Regions from separate parts of the Homo sapiens genome. Here region 1 is linked to region 2. Evidence: promoter capture Hi-C in 16 types of primary human blood cells and fetal thymus (Javierre and others, 2016). All regions are on one chromosome and are shown on one strand. The core of a region is centred on a gene start or on the middle of the fragment in contact, and the rest is flanking DNA. Distances in the headings are between cores, read along the strand shown.

Region 1 (4,375 bases), core at 761-3,260, 5.1 Mb after region 2:
GCCTCTGGGCCTGCGGGCGCCCTTACCCTCCCCCATACCTTTGTACTGGCTTCACTGTGTTCTCACACGGAACTTAGTAATACGTGTTCTAATATGAAATATTAGTGCCATTTTTATTTCTTATGCTAAATTAGCTGTCACTCTTTAGTGCCAACCAAGTCATATTTTACCCTGACCCCGGTCCCCTTTAATGAGAGGCAGTTTTCCTTGAGAAATCCTATAAAACCAAGCCAGTTGTATTTTTCTCCAGATGATTATGGTTGGCATGACTATTTTCACCTTGATTGTAAATGTCATTACAAATGTATAGTAAATGTTCACTCTTATTTTGAAGGGAAAACAGTATGTCAGCAAAATGAAACAAAACCCACAGATTTCATAGATTTAAATACCTCTAAATTCCTGACCTCCGGTGTTTCATGGGGGTAGTATAAACACTAAGCATCTCTATGCAACCATTTCCTTATGGAATTTCTCTGTTTTACGTTGGTACACATGTATTCTTTACTGTTAACTTTCCGACCAATATGCTCCTTCTGAAAAGGTCATGAGCACCGACTGTTTACAAATTTAAAAAAAGCTTTTACTTTTAGACATTTGATATTTTAATAGTGTTCCATTTTCCTCCTAAATTAGCTGAATTATTCAGGGATATCTCATGTAATAGAGGTTTACAAACTCTTAAAATAAGCTGATCTCTGGTCTACAGGTGCACTTGGACCACTGGTGGGAGGGTCCACCCTGGGTATGTCGGGGAAGATGGAGAGCTGGGCTCTGTCTCATGTGTGTATGGGCGTGATGTAAAACTAAAAATACACAATAGTGATGAAACTTAAGATTTATTCATAAGTGCCCACTCCTTCCACCCCCAAACACATATACTGGAGCCCCTCTCCTTGTGTTTTACCTAAATTTTCCTTTCTGTTGACTCTTCCTCTCAAGGTCTTCCATTTTTATCAGCTTACAAATACGTTGGGAACTGGCTGGAGGAACGTGGGGTAAGGAGGAAGACAAATAGTGTATCTGTCCATGCAAAGGATTTTGCAGACTCTTTTGGTGACTTTCATGGACTTCAGCAAGGAGAGTAGAGCTGTGAGCAAAGATGAGTGGTTTTAGAATGAGATACATCATTTAGGTCAGGGGTTTGTCTTCCCACATAATTGAGATAGGAATACTTGGTGACCACAGACCCCCAAATAGGGTTTCATTTGATCAGTTTCCATTTTGATTTTCAGTGCTGCCAAGTCTAATAGACAGACTAGGAGATGCTAAAGACTCTGTGAGGGAGCAGGACCAAACTCTGCTGCTAAAGATCATGGATCAAGCTGCTAATCCCCAGGTAGGGGCAAGAGATGTGTTTTGAGGTCAGCTGGCCAGTGCGCGTGCATGCACGTGCGAGGGTGTGTGTGTGTACTTGCACAAATGGTGTGACTCCATAGACTTAAGCTGATGTATTACAGATAAAAATTTTCACAGCATTCAATCTGTTTCCCCATGCAAGATATTTAAATAAGTCACAAAACTATGAGATGAGTAAATTAGTGGATTTAACATGGGGGTATTGAATCTAATATACTTAGTTTTAATCCATTAGACTCTTCAGCTCATTTATGTAACCGACTCTCCAATTCTCTGAAAAGAGGGAGCTGTGGTGTCTGGGGAGTCAGGAGGCCTGGCTGGAGCCCTGGCCCCTGTCTTCCGGTGAATTGGGGCTGCTGGGATGGACCAAAACAGCCCTGCTTTCCCAGCTTCTACTGTCCTTTATTGGGGGGTGATCAGAAAAAACAGAGGCCAGTGTGAGTGTGTGATCTTTGGCAACTCACTAGCTCCTTTGGCCTTGCTTTCCTCACCCATAAAATGAGGACAGTTATACCTCTCTTTCAGGGTTCTTGGGAGAATTAAATGCAATTATGTAAATGAATGTGTTTTAAAAATTGTAATTTGATATACTTGATAACATGATAGATGTCATCATTTTCCAGTATGCTCTCGAGAGGATTAAATGTGTTGGTAGAGGATGGGACTAATTTGGCGCTCGTTAAGAGGCTTGCCTTCTATTGCTCCCTTATAAAGTGTCAGCTGCAGCAGTCTTCTCCTTTCCTCACCTGTTCTTTGTCATCTGCAGTACGTATGGGACAGAATGCTTGGAGGCTTCAAACACAAGAATTTCCGTACTCGAGAAGGCATCTGTCTCTGCCTTATAGCAACACTCAATGCGTAAGTCTGGGATGAGCCTGACATTTTTACGTGGCTGAATTTTTTAAAACTTTTTATTTTGAAATAATTATAGATTTACAGGAAGTTGCAAAGAAGTGTAGTGTGAGATCTCATGCCCCCTTTACCCACCCTTGCCCAGTGTTAGCACCTTGAATAACTATAGTACAGCATCAGTACCAGGAAGTTGAGATGGATACAATCCCTAGAACTTGCGCAAATTTCTCAGGTAAAACCACATGTGCATTTGTGTGTATATACAACTGCACAGTCACTGCCGGGCTCCTTCATGCTGCTGTGTGTAGCTGCACCCTGACCCCTGGCAACCATGAATGTATTTGAATTTCCAGGAATCTGTTCTCCCTCCCTATGATTTTGTCATTTCAAGAATGTTATGTAAATGGAATTATACAATATGTAACCTTTTGAGTTTATCTTTTTTTCACTCAGCATAATGCCCTTGAGTTTGCACCTGACATTTGATAGTTCATTTTATTGCTAAATAGAATTCCTTGGTATAGATGTGTCACAGTTGGTTAAACTAGTCACCTGTTGAAGAACATTTGGGTAATTTCCAGTTTTTGGCTTTTATGAATAAAGCTGCTATGAACATTCATGTACAAGTTTCTACATGAACATAAGTTTCCATCTCTCTTGGATCACTGCCCAAGAGTACACTTGCTGGGTGATTTGGTAAGTTCATTTTTAGTTTAAAAGGTACTGCCAAGTTTTTCCCCAGAGTTGTCCATACTGTTTTACATTCCTACCAGCAATGTCCGAATAATCTGGTTTCTTCATACCCTTGCTAGCCATTGGATGTTGTCATTTTTTTATTTTAGCCATTTTTATATGTGTGTAGTAATACCTCATTGTGGTTTTAATTTGTATTTATCTAATGGCTGTTGATGGTGAACATTTTTTTCATGTGCTTATTTGTAGGAGAGGCTTTTTAAAAATTATAAATTTCAAGCCTTTTTTTCTGATTATGAAAAAATACTGTATATATCATAAAAATGTACGCAAGGAAAAAATAAAGATTGCTATGATTCTGTTACCTTCAGGTAATCACTGTTAAATTTGGTGCATTTTATCCTAACCTGTAAAGTTATGTTATTTTTAAAAACAAAATTGAGATTATAATGTTTATATTACTTGTAAATTTTTTCCATCTTAATATGTTAGCCTTTTCAGTGCCATTAAATTTGGCCATATGTAACTGAAGCTTAAGAAAAAAAAAAGAAAACTTCTAGCCTTTGATCACAGTAGCTCCAGTTTTAGGAATGTATGCTAAGGTAGTAGGCAGATTAACCAAGAGATTTTTATTCACAAAGGCTATTTGTCATGACAGGGATGGTGATGGTGAAAATTGTAACTCAAATGTGCCCCAGTAGGGCAGTACTTGGCTCAGATGTGCCCCAGTAGGGTAGATGCTCTGATTTGATTGCAGTCTTTTCATCCAGCGGTGTTGCCTGAATGTCTAGCTCTGCCACAGCACACGGGAGAATTAAACAAGGTCCCTCAAGTGACTCGTAGTTGGCTTAAAGTGACAGACAGTAATGCAGAGGCAGCACCTGTGAGGCAAGCGGGACCTGGGGGGCTGGAGCTCTGGCCCAGCCTTAAAGGGTTAGGGCCAGATTGGCCAGAGCCCTGGGGGACAGGACGAAGACTTATCTGGGAGAAGCCACCCTAGGTTTTGAACTCTGTGCAAAGGGGCCATCGGACACATTTACTTTGGAGCCAGTGTGGATGGGATGGAGAGAGACTTGGTATGAGGTGGTGATGGGGATTGGGGAGACACGGGAAGGGCAGGTGTGGGCAGACAGGCATCTTTCTTTCTTTCCTCAGTTCTCACTAACAAGAAAGCACTCCTTTTGTTTTCAGCTCTGGAGCACAGACTTTAACACTAAGCAAGATTGTGCCACATATATGCAACTTACTTGGAGATCCAAACAGCCAGGTGAGTGAGAAGGAAAACCCTCGGGAGAAGTCATTGCTTACAGACTGTTGAGATGCATTCTGGTGTTCCGTAGTGGGTGGGACTGGAGTCCTAATCTTCACAGAACACTGATGATTATTTAAGAGATCCAGTACCCATTAGCATTTATAAAATATTTATACATTCAAATGTATAAAATAAGTTTACATTTAAGTATAAAATTGG
Region 2 (4,173 bases), core at 762-3,261:
GGTGAATTCTATATAAAGCTGCCAAACCTGGCCGTCTTCTCACTGAGCCTTGACCCCTTCCATCCAAGGGCAAGGCAATGGATTGCTGTGCATGACTCACGCGCAGTAACTGTGGCATTGGGGCCTAGCCCAGCTGAGCTGAGCAGAGCAGGCCGGCCTGGCGGAAGTGGGTCCTCTCCGCTCTAACCTCTGGCTCTGATGAGCAGCTACATAAACTGAGACAGGATATAGACACATCCTGCCTGAGTTAGCAGCAAGAAATAGCCGCCCCCCACCCCCCCTGCAGTTCTCGCACAGCAGGGATCCTGCCATAAATCAATCCGAAGTCTAATGTGGAATGGCTTGCAAGCAAGGGCTGCACCGCTGTTTGTCTCCCAAGGCAAGTGTTGAAGGTCTGAAACCTGAGTCCTGGAGAACTGCTTGGGCTGCTGGGCTGGGCTGGGCACGGGGGCGGGGGTCAGGCAAGCCCATCCTCTTCAGACATGAGAATGCCTCTCAGCCTCACCTCCTCAGTGACTGAATTGGAATAATGACAGTGGCTCCTGTCCCTTTAACCCAGGACCTGCCGTATACACACACATAAACATATGCTCAAGTTACGTGCTCCGGGAACCACAGTCTCATGTGCAATTATATAAACATGCCCAGCACGGATCCAGCACTTAGGATGTGTCAGACTCCGTGCCGGGACATTTATACGCACTTCGTGCTGCTGGATGAGTTATCTCCTGTTATTATTCCTACTTTCCTACTTTGCAGATGAGGAAACTGGAGCTAAGAGAGGCTGCCTTGTTTATAGGCAGTGCAGATGATCCCAGTGCAGACTGAGGGGCCTCGCTCCCAAGCACCACTGATGCCTGCGCACTCCCAGGCTGACGCAAGCACAACCACAGGCACATGGAGTGCCGTGTACACACGTAGACCGAAGCAGCACTCCTCCACGCCAAGCTCCAAGCTCAGGCGGGGTGAGGGGTGAGGCCTCACAACCCCCTGGATTTCAAAGACTTATAAAAGAGTTGGTGTCTCCAATACCCATATCATTATCATATCAATAAGGTATCATTGTCACATGATAGGCTCAGGGTATCTCCTCTCTGACAGACTCTAAGAATCAGACCGCGGCAGGGTGGGGGTAAGAGGGATGTACATTACGTTTTTTGGTAAAATCAAATGGTAGTTTTTATTGCAAAAGTCCAACGGCAGAGGAAGAGGGCAGAGAGAGGCCCAGCAATGTTTCCAAGCATCTACAAAGACTTTCATCACAGATGATTTCCTCTCAGCAAGAAAACGTGATGGTTTAAAAGAGAAAACCAGCAGCGAGGAATTACAAATCCCCAAAGGATCCAGGCCGCAGGATTCCCTCGCATCTGTGTGCCTTTGCGGCGCCCAGCGGAGCGAGCAAGTCCCTGGGCAAGGCTGGAGTTGCCTGGAGTTCACCGGAGCCTGGCCGGTCGGACCCTGGCTGGGGAGCAGCACAGAAGCAACTTGTGATGTGAACTCTCACCTAACTGTTCTTTAGGGAGACAATTCTGGCCCCACACATTTCACATGCCCCGCACAAAGAAACAGAAAGCGGGCGACACGCCCTGGGAGGGCGGGCTGGCGGCTTCTCCAGCTCGGAGCGCGTGGAGGCTGCGCGTAGGGGTCCGGGACGCGGGACAGGGACTCCGCGCAGCCCAGGCGCCGGGGAACCGGGGCTGGAGTCGGGGATCTGAGCCCAGCGGACGCCTCCTCCGCCTGGAGGCCCGGCACGGACCGGGACACCAGGGCGTCCGTGGCCGTGGCTCGGCCCCTGGCTGCTGCGGGCCGCGGCCTCCAGTGGGTCCCCAGGACCCTTCCCCACGGCGGGTACTCACCGAGGCTGAGAGGCCACGCCGTGCTGTTGGGGCTTCTCGTCGACCACATTCCTGGGCGTCAGCCCGGGCAGAGACCGCGGGGACTGGCCAGGCCGGGCCAGGCCGGGCCGGGGGAGGGTCGCGCTCCCGGGCTCCTGACCCTCGGCGGCGAGAGGAAGCGGCACCTGGGTCACACTCCTCCCGCGCGGGCCGAGGGGAGGGGCTCTGGCCCGGAGATAGGCAGACTTCATTTATTTTTTTTCTGCAGACTTGGCTGGTGGGGTTTCCACCCCCTTTTTTTTTTTTAAACACACACCCGCCCACTTCTGAACTCTTCTTTGCTCCAACTTTCCTGCGCAAGAACCACGCTTTTCTAACCGTTTCTCTTTCCATCTGCCACTACCGGATACAGAGGTTGTGGTTGAGAATTCCCCCTGGAGTGCAGGGAAAACTCCCCAATGTGACATGATGGCCTGGCCCAGCACTGTCGGGGATGGTGACCAAATAGGGCAGACCTGTGTTGAAATCTTGGCTGGCTGCGCGGCCGCTGGATAGCTGGGCGGCCTCTCTCAGCTGCGGGGCATTTGTCCCTGGAGAGAGTCCCTGTCTTGTTGGCCTTTGGGGGCCCTGTACTCATGGATGGGCTGTTGAGCAAAGATCATTCCAAAACAGGAAGAATTGCTGGACAAGAGTCGTGATTTGTTCCCATTGCTTTTGTCTGAAGCTGCCAGACACAGTGCAGTTTGTGAATTCGCTCTACTTTTGCCATGAAAATCTCCACGTGGATTTCGATACATACCTTTGTTGGTTAAATGCAGTCAAATGGCACCACCTACAAAAAATGTATCATAGCATTATCTGCCCCTTCTGCCCAGAGACAAGGGCAGGGAACTTGAGGCCCTTGTTTTAAATCCCCACCCAGGGGAACACCCTGTGCTTCTCCTGTGTGATGTCTGAACCTTCCTGTGCTGCTTTTCATTGTTTACTTTATAGTTCCCCAAGCACTTTTGTGACGCCCACCTCTCCCCTACCTTCTGCCATTAAGGCCTATCCTGCACAATCCGGAGAGCCAGGCCAGCTGTCTGTACAATGTATGGGCGGTGCCTTTGGGACTGTCATCTGCATTGAATACAATGAGAGGCTGCGCCCTGGAGATTTGCAACACAGAGGCTTTGCTCACCTCTAGCCGGGCTGCACAAACTCCAGGCCTTCTTGACGCAGTGGGAAAGCACTCATGATTCACTTTAGTTAGATCATGAAGAACCCCCGATGCTGATAGATCTTTACTCCAACTGCCATGTGCAGCACAGCCATGTTGAATTGAAATAAACTACTCACAGAATGCCTTTGGCCTGGTGGGGAAGCCCTGAGTCTTGATTTCCTCATCTATAAAATGGAGGCAAGAACACCTGCATTCCGGGGTTTTACAGAGGCAGTGATTGTAGAATCACAGTGGGAACAGAAAAGGCATTTAATAAACAGCAATGAGTAATGATTAATTTATTTTTATTTATTTATTTATTTATTTTTCTGAGACGGAGTTTTTGCTCTTGTTGCCCAGGCTGGAGTCCAACGGCGTGATCTCGGCTCACCACAACCTCCGCCTCCTGGGTTCAAGCAATTCTCCTGCCTCAACCTCTCGAGTAGCTGGGATTACCAGCATGTGCCTCCACGCCTGGCTAATTTTGTATTTTTAGTAGAGACGGGGTTTCTCCATGTTGGTCAGGCTGGTCTCGAACTCCCGACCTCAGGTGATCCACCCACCTTGGCCTTCCAAAGTGCTGGGATTACAGGCGTGAGCCACTGCACCCGTGATTACTTTAACAGTTTAACTTTTTTTTTTGGTAATACATACACATACGTCTACGTGGAACAGTAGTCCCGCTCCTCTGTCCTGAGAGAAAATAACTTTAATTATCTGAAATGCAGCTGGAAAGTTGGAAAGAAGCAGAAAGTTCTGCCAGGTAACAACGGACAAGTCATTAGGTCATTGCAGCACACTTAGAGAAGTCACTTTTACAGACTCATTTAGAACCTACTGGCCTTAGACGTAATCATAAGAGATTTCCTTAATTTCTTAGGGTAAGACAGGTTGAAGGCATCAAAATGTTGCAGAGAATTCCTTACAGAAAATAAGCCAAAAATTAATAAACTAACGAACTAAACAGTGAAAATTGAAAGCCCCACAAACTGCAGAGGTCAGATACAAGAACGAAGTAGCATTTGTTACAGAACTAAAGCAATCTCAGCTCCAGCCATCACTGGAGGATGTGACAGTTCCTTGCGCTATTAAAGACCACAGGGCTTTGGAACTCAATCTGGGTTAGTTACTCTACTG

Evidence for each region. Contacts are between HindIII fragments. The CHiCAGO score rates a contact against its expected background, and 5 or more counts as called.
Region 1: a contact is called between a fragment that was not itself captured here and the fragment with the promoter of GYPC in region 2, in 1 of 17 cell types (neutrophils). The highest score is 5.4, in neutrophils.

Annotation. Positions count from the first base shown.
Region 1 is chr2:121,525,641-121,530,015 of GRCh38, reverse strand. It overlaps CLASP1 (cytoplasmic linker associated protein 1), which reads left to right. Exons shown (of 41, transcript NM_001395891.1): 4 at 1,236-1,339; 5 at 2,126-2,217; 6 at 4,096-4,171. Among named protein-coding and RNA genes, the nearest start is that of CLASP1-AS1, 2.3 kb to the left of the region's middle. The HindIII fragment of the contact is 2,856 bases long and covers 583-3,438 here.
Region 2 is chr2:126,653,996-126,658,168 of GRCh38, reverse strand. GYPC (glycophorin C (Gerbich blood group)) reads right to left here and starts at 2,011. Exons shown (of 4, transcript NM_002101.5): 1 at 1,857-2,011. The coding sequence starts at 1,905. RefSeq lists enhancers at 312-541, 732-981, 439-1,278, 2,072-2,361 and a silencer at 1,612-1,981. The HindIII fragment of the contact is 9,683 bases long and covers 1-4,173 here.